Linked DNA regions of Homo sapiens: regions 1, 2, 3 and 4 are each linked to region 5. Evidence: promoter capture Hi-C in 16 types of primary human blood cells and fetal thymus (Javierre and others, 2016). All regions are on one chromosome and are shown on one strand. The core of a region is centred on a gene start or on the middle of the fragment in contact, and the rest is flanking DNA. Distances in the headings are between cores, read along the strand shown. Region 1 overlaps ACBD6 (acyl-CoA binding domain containing 6). Region 2 overlaps ACBD6 (acyl-CoA binding domain containing 6). Region 3 overlaps ACBD6 (acyl-CoA binding domain containing 6). Region 4 overlaps ACBD6 (acyl-CoA binding domain containing 6). Region 5 holds the start of LHX4-AS1 (LHX4 antisense RNA 1).

The links. Contacts are between HindIII fragments. The CHiCAGO score rates a contact against its expected background, and 5 or more counts as called.
Region 1: a fragment that was not itself captured here is called in contact with the fragment with the promoter of LHX4-AS1 in region 5 in 8 of 17 cell types (neutrophils, monocytes, endothelial precursors and 5 more); the score reaches 13.1 in neutrophils.
Region 2: a fragment that was not itself captured here is called in contact with the fragment with the promoter of LHX4-AS1 in region 5 in 1 of 17 cell types (monocytes); the score reaches 5.0 in monocytes.
Region 3: a fragment that was not itself captured here is called in contact with the fragment with the promoter of LHX4-AS1 in region 5 in 3 of 17 cell types (endothelial precursors, monocytes and M1 macrophages); the score reaches 5.7 in endothelial precursors.
Region 4: a fragment that was not itself captured here is called in contact with the fragment with the promoter of LHX4-AS1 in region 5 in 7 of 17 cell types (neutrophils, M1 macrophages, M2 macrophages and 4 more); the score reaches 15.8 in neutrophils.

The regions. Positions count from the first base shown.
Region 1 is chr1:180,425,738-180,428,541 of GRCh38, reverse strand. All of the region lies in intron 4 of ACBD6 (acyl-CoA binding domain containing 6), which reads left to right. It overlaps LOC105371637 (a long non-coding RNA gene), which reads left to right. Exons shown (of 2, transcript XR_922334.3): 1 at 1-2,804. Among named protein-coding and RNA genes, the nearest start is that of MIR3121, 11 kb to the left of the region's middle. The HindIII fragment of the contact is 3,094 bases long and covers 1-2,804 here.
Region 2 is chr1:180,444,522-180,447,272 of GRCh38, reverse strand. The region is part of intron 3 of ACBD6 (acyl-CoA binding domain containing 6); the gene reads left to right. Among named protein-coding and RNA genes, the nearest start is that of MIR3121, 7.5 kb to the right of the region's middle. The HindIII fragment of the contact is 5,556 bases long and covers 1-2,751 here.
Region 3 is chr1:180,491,199-180,493,898 of GRCh38, reverse strand. It overlaps ACBD6 (acyl-CoA binding domain containing 6), which reads left to right. Exons shown (of 8, transcript NM_032360.4): 3 at 1,534-1,630. Among named protein-coding and RNA genes, the nearest start is that of ACBD6, 10 kb to the left of the region's middle. The HindIII fragment of the contact is 530 bases long and covers 1,011-1,540 here.
Region 4 is chr1:180,407,057-180,409,756 of GRCh38, reverse strand. All of the region lies in intron 5 of ACBD6 (acyl-CoA binding domain containing 6), which reads left to right. Among named protein-coding and RNA genes, the nearest start is that of MIR3121, 30 kb to the left of the region's middle. The HindIII fragment of the contact is 2,888 bases long and covers 1-2,700 here.
Region 5 is chr1:180,273,237-180,275,936 of GRCh38, reverse strand. It overlaps LHX4-AS1 (LHX4 antisense RNA 1), which reads left to right and starts at 1,256. Exons shown (of 5, transcript NR_037642.1): 1 at 1,256-1,286; 2 at 1,825-2,000; 3 at 2,539-2,599. LHX4 (LIM homeobox 4) reads right to left here. Exons shown (of 6, transcript NM_033343.4): 6 at 1-1,752. The coding sequence ends at 1,358. It also overlaps a transcript of ACBD6 not described here. The HindIII fragment of the contact is 1,811 bases long and covers 329-2,139 here.

The sequences.
Region 1 (2,804 bases), core at 65-2,564, 150 kb before region 5:
TATTGAAAGGGTTAATCTTCCTTCCTTTATCCCCCACCCAATTGCTAGTGAAGTGATTCTTAGATTTAAATCAGTATTTAGAATTTTGACAGTGATAAACAATGACAAAGAATAATACAGTTTATTTTTGTAGAGATTTAAATTCAATTCAACACACATTTATTATGAACCTATAATGACAGAAAACATTGGAATATTTGTGCTTCTCAACTTCTTCACTTTTGAATAATATGTTCTTACTACTTTTGGCATTTTCATGAAAGTATGTTTAATAAATATTAATTGAATGAAATATGAACCTTTGTGGGCAAAATTGGTTAGACTTGGCCTTTTTTTCATGAAGTCTTCATTAAGTATTAGTCTTATGATATCATCTAAATCTTCATATTCTGAACATATTGTTAAGAAAGAGTAAGAAACATGAATGTGAGCAAGCCATTGAAAGCTGTTTAACTATTACAAACACAGTAATTTTGTTACTACTACAGCAGATCAGAAATTACAGCAACTAATCATACTCTTGTATTGGGAGAGTTCTTTTTATAGTGTAGAATTCCATTATAACAAATTAGGCCATAATGAAAATTCGTTGTTTTTTGGTTTTTGGTTTTTTTTTTTTTTTTGAGACAGAGTCTTGCTCTGTCACCAAGCTGGAGTGCAGTGGTATGATCTCAGCTCACTGCAACATCTGCCTCCTGGATTCAAGCGATTCCCCTGCCTCAGCCTCCTGAGTAGCTGGAACTACAGGCGCACCACCATGCCCAACTAATTTTTGTATTTTTAGTGGAGACAGGGTTTCACCATATTAGCCAGGATGGTCTCGATCTCTTGACCTCGTGATCCACCTGCCTTGGCCTCCCCAAAGTGCTGGGATTACAGGCGTGAGCCGCTGTGCCTGGCATGAAAATTCTTATGTACTGAAATGTTGGATTATTCCAGTGAAGAGCCAGATGTAGTCCGTATGGTTTCTTACGTATCAGAATGCAATTGCAACAATGAAAATGGGTTATTTCTTGAAGTTATGTAATCAAATTATGCTTGTATTTTGGTGAAATATATCTGGTGTTTTATTTTTCTAAGAGAAAGTTGTGCTTTAATTGATATTAATTGCAATTTCTTGGCAGAATTATATTTAACTGAGGCGAAAGTGACAGTAGGTTTTAGAGTTTTAGAAGCATCAAATGGTAGACTTGGATGAAAGCAAAAATTCTTTTCTATGGAACTGTTATTTTTAAAAAAGGACATAAAATAATGTATTTTGAAGGTTTGTTTTGATACTTTATAACTCCAGATTTTTTTTACATTTGTAAAGATCAGGCAAATCACTATCTAATAAATCCATTTGGTTAAGTTTGGGTTCCATTGTTGTGGCAGCTTTTCTGACGAATGTGTATTGTATAATAGATGATGAGTTATGAGTTTGAGCCAAGGGCCAGTGGGGCCAATTCTGAGCTTGCTTCCTGCTTTCTACTCTGTCATAGAAAGTATCAATATAATGTCAGAGGTTCAGATCTCTGTGTTAATATTGCAGAGCTCTGACATCAATTTCTCATTCTGAAGCAAGTTAATTGTTCTGTAATATAATTGAGGGGGTGTAGGGGGATTCTAATTAAGTACAAAAAATTATGGAGCCAAACCGCTGGCATTCAAATGCTAGTTCCACCACTTACTAGCTGTGTGATCTTGGGCAAGTTACTTACCTGTAAAATGGGGATAATTATAGTACTTATCTCACTTGATACTTAGCAGATTATGTGAATACATAGACATCCTCGAACAGTACCTGGTGCAAAATAAGTTACTGTGTAACTGTTAGCTTTTATAAATAGTATTGTTATTCGGCAGAGGGAGTCCCTACAGAGGAGCCAGGAGCTGATGTTAGGAGCTACAATAACATGGCATTCTGGTTATATAATTAAATGCAAGTTGTTTGCTTTTGCAAAAGAAAATGGAAAACAAGGAAGGGAGAGCCAATATTTTTAGAACTATAGAAACGAGAGTAACAAATCTTATAACAGGGAGTAACCTCTGGTTTTGCGATCAGCTGTTTTTCATTTATACCGCAGATGGGCAGAAAAAGTACTGGTCAATAAGCATAGGGGTTTGTAGAGTAAGATGATTCTGCACTACATATACAAGAAATTGCTTCTGGTTACTTGCATGCTTCAAAGGTTTGATCTAGAAGTTTGCACATAAATTGAGAAATTAGGGTAAGAATTAAAAATGTAGTAAATGAAGATTGAACAGTACCCACACCACCCTGCAATAAGATTTGATCCTCCCTGTTATATTTTGTAGTTTGATGTCATGTAATCTATTAGAATTTTATTAATTCTGCTTACACAGACAGCCATCTGGACCTTCTCTAAGCAAGACCAGTCCTAGTATACAACTGAAATGATTGATGGGCTCTGGAATTGATTAGTTGTTCTGTGAGACAAATGAAGTGTTTTGGCAGAAAATACAAGAGGTTGCTGCTTGTGGTCAGACACAAAAGCCTGTAGAATTTCAAAGAGATGCTTTAATCATTGACTTATAAAGTTTCCATTTTTAAACAATAATGGATTTTGAAAATATTTCCCAAATATCTTTTCATTGGCTGCTGTCTAGTCCTGATTATAAATGGAAGAATATAAGTATAAAAAATTAGAATGAAAGTGATTGTTTTATGCTTTAATTTTGTATTCTTGGTGAAATATGAACTAACTTGGAAGTAGCATAAAAGCCTGTCATGCATAAATTATACTCTAAAATTTTCCTGAAAGAGATATGATTGGAGAAAAAGCTGTAACGTGTATAGTTTT
Region 2 (2,751 bases), core at 226-2,725, 170 kb before region 5:
TCTTCAGTCTTTTAATCTTTAAAAAATGTGTTAGCTAGTGTATGTAGTATATATACAAAAAATATTAGGAAAGGCTGAAATTTGGAGGATTGGATAAAATACTTGTTCATATCATTTCTGTTCTCATTGCTTTTATTTAAAATTATTTTCCAATGCTAATTTAAGCATTTATGCAACATTTCTAGAGAACTGACATTTTTATAAATGTCTGGGTTTTTTTGTTTGTTTGTTTTGGGACAGAGTCTCACTCTATCACCCAGGCTGGACTGTCGGGGGTTATCTCAGCTCACTACAACCTCTCCCTCCCGGGTTCAAGCAATACTCCTGCTTCAGCCTCCCAAGTAGCTGGGATTACAGATATGCACCACCATGCCCAGCTAATTTTTGTATTTTTAGTAGAGATGGGGTTTTACCATGTTGGCCAGGCTGGTCTCAAACTCCTAACCTCGGGTAATCCGCCTGCCTCTGCCTCCCAAAGTGCTAGGATTACAGGCATGAGACTGCACCTGGCTAAATGTCTGTTTTTTAAAGGTTGTAGGAGATGATTTTTTAAAATATTGCTGTGTGTTTGTAATTTTAAGAGAAACAGGTTAAAAACATACGTTTATGGAGTTCCCCTTTCTTGAAAAATTTTATAAATATTACTGTTATAAGTAGCAACCAACAATATTTTCATGGTAAAGTTTTCTTTTTAATGCTGTGACAAATGGTAGATGAGATGAAACCAATATTCTTACTTTTCTACTTGAAATGAATAGCTATTCATGTTTCAGGAAAAAATTTAGTATTTCAAAAGGATTATCAGAAAAGTGTTCCTCTTTTAAGGGTTTAGAATGATAGTATTAATCTAGCAACTAAATTATGCATAATTTATCAGAATAATTTTGCTTCAAAAATGTTTAAAGTTTTCTCTTTGAACTAATGGAGTACTTTATGTAAACATTTTAAAAGTACACTTAAGGCTGGGTGTGGTGGCTCACACCTGTAATCTCAGCACTTAGGGAGGCTGAGGTGGGTAGATCGCTTGAGCCCAGGAGTTAAAGACCAGCATGGGTGACATGGTAAAACCCTGTCTCTACCAAAAATACAAAAAAAAAAAAAAATTATCCCGGCGTGATGGTGCTTGCTTGTGGTCCCAGCTACTTGGGAGGCTGAGGTGGGAGGAGATCCCTTGAGCCTGGGAAGCAGAAGTTGAATGAGCCAAGATCACCCACTGTACTCCAGCCTGGGTGACAGAATGAGACCCCATCCCCCCCAAAAAAAAGTACACTTAAGAAACAGACAAAATTTTAATTTAGAATATTGTCAGTATGTAATAATGGTTTCCAAAATAGCTTGGAGAAGTAATATAATGTAATTTAATAGAACACAGGCTTTGGAATATCAAAGGATCTTGGTGTGAATCCCAATTCTGCCACTTCTGTGGCATTGGATACTTCACCTCTTTTCAGTTTTTGAATCTGTAAAATAAATATTTACTTATATTTCATCAAATCTTTTTTTTTTCTTTTGTAGAGACAGGGTCTCACCATGTTGTCTAGGCTGGTTTTGAACTCCTGAGCTCAAGTGATCCTCCTTCCTCAGCCTTTCAAAGTGCTGGAATTAAAGGCATGAGCCACTGCACCTGGCCAAATCTAAGGCAGACATTTATTCAGTTTTTAATATTTTTGAAATCTGTATGAGTCTTAGTGTATTATATTTAATTGGCTAGTTTTTCTTTCTGAACATTACAGAAAATAATGGTGCTTCTTATAATTGAGGATATCTTAGATTAAATAAAATACAGTGATAATGCCAGCTTTATAGACTCGTTTTGAAGTGGAAGTTGGATAGTATAAGCACATAGAAAATATTCCTTAAGTATTAGTTTTCTATCTCTTTTTCTTATAACGAAGTATGTTAGAGTTTTTATGATTGGTTTGTTTGGGGGATTTGTTGTTGTTTTATCAAGAGAATCAGGAGTTTAGAGCTATTAGGTAAAGACCATAGGTCAATATTTTAAGTCCCCACATCACAACATCTTGTATCTATATTGCTGAAACACTTTTGCGTTGGAGAAATGGCCATGTTTTGGGCAATAATAATTATTGTATTAGCTAACACTTACAAAATGGCCACTTTGCACTGGATACTGTTTTATTTATGTATAAATATAAATAGGTATGAAATAGGTACTATTATTCCCATTTTTACAAATGAGGAAACTGAGGCAAAGAAGTAGATTAATTTTCCCAGCATTCTACAGTTAGACTATAAATGAATTAAACAAAACAGTAAAACAAATCCAAAAAAGGTAGCACACAGAAGCAAGAAACCTCTTTGCATAGATTAGCTTGATAATCTTAGGAATAGAAGAAAAAGTTTCACAAGGCTTTAAATCTTGACTCTAAAACTGACTAAGGTGGAGTCTGAATCAAGTGATAAAGATTTAGCCAACAACTTATCCTTTCCCTTTTGAGTGAAGGAGCATTTTAGTTTCTCAACTAATAGAGTCTCAGGCAATGTAAGAACTGGCAAATTTTATCCTGTTCGCTGCCAAATTGGACTCTATTTAATTGCTGATGCAACATAAAAGTGACTTAATGGATTTTGAGTAGAGAGAAATGGAATAAACTTCTAAGCCTCTATGAAAGAAATTTCACTGGAGTGGATATCAAGAGGGTAAAGTAGCCAAAGTTTATCCACTCTGGTAGATGAAGTGTATAGAAAGGAAAACTAACGCATCTTTGGCATCTTTATTCTGGATTCAAT
Region 3 (2,700 bases), core at 26-2,525, 220 kb before region 5:
TGTAGGTAAGGAAACAATTAGACAAATTCAAATTGAGGGATATGTTATAAAACAGTTGGACTCTTAAAAAATACCAACAATGTGGAAGACAAAAAAGCTGAAGATACATGAAACTCAATGCTGTGTGTGGATCTTGATTGGTTCCTGGTGTGGGAGAAGAAAGCCATAAAGGACATTATTGGGACAATCAGGAAAATCTGAATGTATAGCCTCTATATTGTATAATAGTAATTGATGATAAATTTCCTGAGTTTGTGTAAGCTGATCTATTTAGGGATGAAGTGTTATGATGCGTATAAGTAATTCTTAAGGAATTCAGTGAAAATAAATTTAGAAAACCTCAGAAAGATATTATATTCATCATAGAAGCAGGAAGGTAGTGAAAAAATGTGGGATTGAGTTCTGTTTGACAGCAAATCAGGGAAATCGAGAAACACTGGTTGGAATTTAGAAAGAATTGGCAGGGAAAAACCAAGAAGAAGGCCTGTCCTGGCAGCCTGTTGTGGGGGCAGGGGGGTAGATGACCCAAAAGGAAGCTCAGGACTAAAATGTTGCTTTTGCCATTTATATTGTAGGAAGTCCCTAACTTACTCATTAGTATTCTTTAGTTGCTGTTGTTGTTTTTTTTTTTTTTTTTTTTTTTTTTTTTTTGAGACAGAATTTTGCTCTGTTGCCCAGGCTGGAGTGTGGTGGTGCCATCTCAGCTTACTGCAACCTCTGCCTCCCAGGTTCAAGCAATTCTCCTGCCTCGGCCTCCAGAGTAGCTGGACTACAGGCGCACACCACCACGCCTGGCTAATTTTTGTATCTTTAGTAGAGATGGGGTTTCACCATGTTGGCCAGGCTGGTCTCAAACTCCTGACCTCAGGTGGTCCACCTGCCTCAGCCTCCCAAAGTGCTGGGATTACAGGCGTGAGCCACCAAGCCTGGCCAGTATTCTTATTTCTGCCCTCACCATCCCTTACTTTTGAAGTCCCAGACTAAGTCCCCAGGATCAGTTACTAGAAGCTTATAGATGAGATAACAGCAGAAAGGGAAGGTGGATTTCTTGTATCTTAGTAAGAAGTTTGATGCATTTTCCTTGGGAATATTGTTTTTTATGTGATGATTAGTTTCTGTACGACCAAAATGCCATAAGCACAGTTAATTTATGAGAATAATCTCTATTAGTCTGTAGATCATATATCCTCAATAGGGGTGAAATTTTGTTTGAGGAAATTATAAAATCTTAGATTACAGTGGTTTGTGGTCTTTCAAAATTTAATAGCTATGCATTGTATCTGTGTTTTTAAAATTTCACGGGGAGGACGATTAGGAAAAAAAATGTCTGAAAAGACTGCTTAGGTAGGGCAATAAGGTCTGTATAGCTCTAGACCAATGTAAATGCAAAAAGACAGAGCTTCTCTATCCATAGCTTATTATCTCTATATTCAGAGACCCTTGAAATGTGCATACAGTTTTTTTAATAATAAGAAAAATGCTGTTTGTGTTATTTGCATAATGACAGGCCATTTTGGATATTCCATATTGTAGGGAAGCTTGGAAAGCACTTGGTGATTCAAGCCCCAGCCAAGCAATGCAGGAATATATCGCAGTAGTTAAAAAACTAGATCCAGGTTGGAATCCTCAGGTAAGACTTAATGATTATAAATAATACTTTCCAAAAACTTATGATCCTTCTCTGAAATAAATGTCTAAAACTAAACTTAGTTTTAAGTAACATGCTTAAAGTTTTACTTTCTTGAAATATTTTAAAGTTATTGTAATATTTATCTAATAAAATAATTGCTGGCCAGGTGTGGTGGCTCATACCTGTAATCCCAGCACTCTGGGAGGCCAAGCCAGGTGGTTCACCTGAGGTAAGAGTTCAAGACCGGCCTGGCCAGCATGGTGAAATCTCATCTCTACTAAAAATACAAAAATTAGCTGGACGTGGTGGTACACACCTGTAATCCCAGCTACTCAGGAAGCTGAGGCAGGGGAATCAATTGAACCTGGGAGGCTGAGGCTGCAGTGAGCCAAAATCAGGCCACTGCACTCCAGCCTGGGTGACAGTGTGAGACTCCATCTCAGAAAAATGAAAAAAATTAATAATAATTACTTAAATAGTAATATAACCAGCTACTGATGCTGAGAACTTCTCTGAGTTGCAGAGTTTTTGAAAGCAGAAAAATTTGAATTACATAAGAATTGGAAAGAGTTTAACTTGAGATTATCATGCTGGAAAAAAGGTTACTCTTGGATTTCGTTTTTATGATCACTTTCTATGCAAGGGCAAAATGCTTATTAGGGATAAAAGATGAATAAGACATGATTTCTGCCATTATGTAGTTTAAAGTGTAATAGAGAAGATAAAACATATCAAAATATATATCTTTAATAGTATAAAACAATAATAATGTAAATGCTAGGGAATCCAGCAGGAAAAGGGATTGCTTTGGACTTTGGAAGCATTGGATATTGTTCACTTAAATATACCCTGTTTTTCTCATATACTTATTGGAGAACATCTAGAAAGAATTTAATAAAGGTGAGGTTACTATTTAAGAATATTGTTAAATGATTAACAGGTATTTCAGTGAGATAGAGGTTGCATTGTACCATGTAAAAAATGCAAATTGAATTTTTTTCAATAAAAATATTAAGGCCAAACATTTTAGCAGTTAATGAATTAAACAATTTTCAGTGTTTTTGTAATAA
Region 4 (2,700 bases), core at 77-2,576, 130 kb before region 5:
TTTTTGTGTCTGAGTGAATAGGGAAGCCTGAAGAGAGGGGGAGAGACCAGGAACAGCCAGTCAGTGGAGCAGTCAGAACACACAAAGTATCTGTTGGTTAAATTTGCCATCTTTCTCAGTGTGGTTTGTAGCACTCCAAAACAATTACAATAGTAACATCAGAGATCACTGATCATTACCCTAACAGATATAATAATAATGAAAAACTTTGAAGTATTGCAAGAATTACCTCAGTGTGACACAGACATGAAGTGAGCACATCTTGTTGGAAAAATGGCACCAATAGTTGGCTTAACTCAGGGTTGCTACAAATCTTCAATTTACAAAAAACACAGTATTTGCAAAGTGCAATGAAGCATAGTGCAATAGAACAAGGTATGCCTGTATAGCTTTCTTTTTTAAATAAATTTGGCATGATTGCTTCCCTTGATTTTTTAAATTGTAGTTTTTTATCTTTGTGCTTGTGAGTTAAAATTTTTATAAAGTTAATACATTTGTTTTTTTAAAAAATCAAATGTTACTATTAGTCTTATAAACAAAAAAATTCTCTCTTACCTGCATCCTTCTTACATTTTATTCTAGCTCCTTTAAGGCAAAAATTTTCTCTTTTTTTTAGACAGATTCTCAGGCTGGAGTGCAGTGGCATGATCAGGGCTCACTGTAGCCTCTGCCTCCTGGGCTCAAGCGATCCTCCCACCTCAGCCCCCAGGTAGCTAGGACCACAGGTGTGCACTACCATGCCTGGCTAATTTTTGTATTTTTAGTAGAGATGGGGTTTCACCATGTTGGCCAGGCTGGTCTCGAACTCCTGAGCTTTAGTAATCAGCCTGCCTCAGCCTCCCAAAGTGTTAGGGTTACAGATGTGAGCCACTGCACCCGGCCAGACTTCCAGTTCTTTTAATGTGTCTTTAGCACCTTACCTACATAATTCTAAATAATATACTTCTATTTCTTGATTTTTCAACTTTAGACATTATTGATTTGTTTCTGTGTTATATTTAGATTTAACTGTTTTACTCATCTTCCCTCTCTCTCTCTGACCCTCCTAACGTAATTATATCACAACTTTTTTATTTTATTTTATTATTATTATACTTTAAGTTTTAGGGTACATGTGCACAATGTGCAGGTTAGTTACATATGTATACATGTGCCATGCTGGTGTGCTGCTCCCATTAACTCATCATTTAGCATTAGGTATATCTCCTAATGCTATCTGTCCCCCTCCCCTCACCCCACAACAGTCCCCAGAGTGTGATGTTCCCCTTCCTATGTCCATGTGTTCTCATTGTTCAATTCCCACCTATGAGTGAGAACATGCAGTGTTTGATTTTTTGTCTTTGCGATAGTTTACTGAGAATGATGATTTCCAATTTCATCCATGTCCCTACAAAGGACATGAACTCATCATTTTTTATGGCTGCATAGTATTCCATGGTGTATATGATATCACAACTTTTAATTTCAGCTTTCTGATTGAATCTCTGTTGAATCAATATTAATATTATTATGACTATGTAAATACTCATTGCTAAGCTGTGGATTGTACTTGTGTGTATCAGTCAGCTTTTGCTGTGGCACAACCCCCAAATTTCAGTTGCTTACAGCAACAAACATTTGTTTTTTTGCTTATATCACTGTCTCATGAGATGAGTGACACCATCTCATTTATATATTCTGATAATGCTCTTACTTGATTTCTTTATGTTTATCTGATATTTCAAAAGGGTTTTGGATCAGTTGAGACAGTCTGTATATTTTATCTACTTTTATTATTAATAGTATGAGTGAAGGATGATGATAATATAACAAATCAATAAGTAGGCCACTTAACTTTTCAAAGTCACAGTTTTTTCACTGGAAGTATCTTGTGTGTACTATATGGTGCCTGTTAATATTTATCTTTCAAATAACACATAATACTTTATACAATGCATGTGATAGTTTACAGAGTACTTTCACTTATTACTATATTATCTCTACAACAGTTCTCTAAGGCAGATATTGTCCTTGTTTTACAGACAGGAACTGAAGTTCAGAGACCTACATTTACTTGCTCAAATCCATATAACTGCTAAGTAGAAACCAGGTCTGGGAGAGTATTCTTCCTACCACTAGATTTTAGAAGGATAAATAAAAAGAAGAAAAAGAAGGATAAGCAGTTGTCATTTGGCCTTCCCTGTGTTATGCTCTGGTTTGCAGCAATTTCTTTTATAAAATATTACTGGAAGTCAAATCCACATGTGACCTCCACAAAGATCACTGGATGGACAACAGTGATAGGGGTGGAATAAGTGCCTAGAACACAGATAGCTTACACTAAATAACACATATTTTGTGTGTGTAAAGACAAGGAAAACTTGGCAAAATGTATTGTTTCTGCCATTTTGTTACTTTGATGTAGTGCTGCTTTCCAGATCTTCCAGTTTGTTAACCATGCAGCTACCTTTACCCTCAGCCTGCCAGAACGTTGTATTTCATGAACAGATGAAGTGCTTACACATTCATAGACTGAGACGCCAAGAATTCAGTTGGGTTCTCTCATTGCTCCAAGCAGATTTCTGCCCTCTCAGCCATGACAATTCAGGCTGAGCTTTGAATACTGATGGCAAACCCTTTTATTATTAATCAGGGATTTGTATGAATTAATTTAAGAACATAAGGGAGGTGGGAGCTTAAAATCAAAATCAAACTTAACAT
Region 5 (2,700 bases), core at 7-2,506:
GCAACTCGTAAAGCGGGGGTTGGCCTTGCTCTGGCCTCAGGCTTAGTGATTTGCTACTGCAAACCTGCACAACGGGGAGTCCCTGCACCACCACTGGCCAGAGAGTTCTGGCTTTCTGACCATGGGACTGCAGCCCAAGGCATGGCAGGTGTCCAGCCAGCAATCCAGAGAGATGCAGCCCAAGAACCACTTAGAACCCTTTGGACAATTTTAGGGCTGCTCCCTAAATTACTCTTCCCAACCAAGGTAGGCCAAAAAAAAATTGCTGGTTCCTGGAAATGACCAAAACTGTCCTCCAATTGAGTCAGCTAGGACAGCAGAGAAAGCTTTCAGAGGGGTAGACTTGCAAGCTCATCTAAACCAACTCCTTCAAAACAGACTCCAAATATTTCACCCTACAAGGGATGGGGAACTCTGGAAGACTGGCATCAGCCGATATGGCTGAACAGACTGCAGGTTTGGAATCCAAATGTGTCTACAAATGTTCACTGATTGATTGTCATTTTGTTCTCCCCACATTTTAGTTTTGCTCATTTTACAGCCCACAGCCTGTCTTGTGGAATAAATGATACAAGCAATTGAAGAAGGCACACTGTGCACCAAGGGGACGACTCAGGCAATCTGCAGCGGTGGTCCAGGGCTACTCAGCTCAGCCTCAGTCACCTGCAATGAAAACCACCTCTTGCCATCAGAGTCAATGATATAGATGGGACACTTAAAAACCAAAACAGGTTCATATTCTCTGGTTTGTAGGAAAGAATTCATATCTTCACAGCAAAAATAAAAAAGGAGGGGGCATGTTTTTAATATCAAACTGGCCATCAAAGTGTTCACTGACCTTTAATAACTGATCTTTTCATTTTGAAATATAGGGTTCAATAAGGATGGTCCAGAAATCACTTTTATTTTACTCAAGGGCTGTGAGGCCTCTACCTTAGGAGTCTCAGTTCTGGTGAGAGCAGTGTTTTGGGAGGCATTGTGTGAGACACACCAGTTGGAGCAAAGTTCCCAAAGGCCAAGGGGGCCTATCACAGTCACCTTGTGCTACCAAAGCACTGAGCAGCCAAGCCCCTAAGCAGAACAGCAGGGGAGAGACCCAACAAGCCAGTGTCCCTAGAGCTCTAGGCCATTACCCCCTGTGCTGTGTTCTGAGATGAGTCTGCTCTCCCACTGCTTCCCCAGGGAAACAATGCCCTAGTGTGGTCTCACAGCCTTCTAGGAATCAGCGGAGGACTTCCATTGAAAATAATGGAAATTCACATTGGCGTACTTTCGATCCTTAAAAGGCAAGTCTCTTTTGATCCTTGAAGATATTCTCTCAAGCCAGGGGGGCAGGTAGGGTGGGGAGGAGAGAAGTTTAAAAAGGAGGATGATCCATTTCATCGAGCCAAGAGCCTGGGCTAGTTGGAAAGTCGGGATAGCCTACACTGCTTCCTGTGGAGATGTCAGAGGTGGGTCCCCCAGCCATGGCTCTCAGCGTCTGGCTTACTCCCTGCCCTGCATGCGCAATGATGCCCAAATTACTGTCCACCGTGTAATCCAGCCCATTGAGCAAAGGAGCGTGGGATGGCAGGGACGATATGGAGGATGGAGACTGGGGGATTCCATAGGGGCTCCCATCCCTCAAGTCCTGATAGGATTGTCCTGTCCCGTCCATGGAGAAGCTCCCATTCATTAACTGTCCGCCTGTAACGTCCCCCACGTTGCCATAAATCCTATTGGTGTGGCCAAGTTCTGAGAGAATTTGATCCTCTGTGGACAAAAGAACGGAGATTTATTGTCAGCTGCCAGGACTCTGATGGTCCCCTGCTCTTCACAACCTAGGAACACACATGACCAGGAAAGATGCCCAAGGATGGCAGCTGCCTTGCAGCCAAGCATGGGTCAGACACACCAATATGGCAGCCTGATATCCAGAGGCCAACCCAGGCCAAGGAGAAAAACAAGAAACACCTGCAAAGACTAAATTCCCAGGTCCCAGAAGGATGGACAAATGTTTGGTGAGCTCGTTGGTCCCTTGTGGCTCGTGTACTAATACTCTGGCTACACTGAGGAGGATGAATGCCTAAGGCTGGGTGGGTCAGATGTCTCCACATCACAAATGGAAACTACATGCTGACAACATTTACCCTGAAAGCTTTCAAGCTGAGAAAGGGCTTGGTTTAGTTGATTGGGAAGCAAGCAGGCCCATATGGTCAGGGAAGCTGAGGACCACTCTTAGACATCTGTACAAAATCCTTCTGGTCTATCTGGAAGAGAGGTTCAATATCAAAGGACTTGGTTTCTGTCTGTATTCAATAAGCTCTTCACTGGGGACAAAGAATTGACTTGATTAAGGCAAATGAACCTTCTTTTTTCTTAAAGAATTTCATTAAGGGGATCTAATGGAATCTTTGCCACTTGAAAGAATTTCTCTCTCCAACAGAGGTGAGCAGTTTTAGTCTTTGAGAAATTATTCCCAGAGAAACCAATGATAGGTCAGCCCAGGGACCCACCTGCACCCAACAGAAATGAGCTTAACAATCCAGTATGTTCTAGGTGTTGACTTCAACAGCCCAGATGAGATTGACTTTCCCAATCCTGCCAAGAAGCCTAAAAGGTGAGTATTAGTCCCATGAGCTGTCCCCAAGGCCTCACGGGCCCTGTGTTCTCAGAGGAGGCTGCCCTCTAGGGCTCAGCTGACCTCTGGGCTGAACTAGA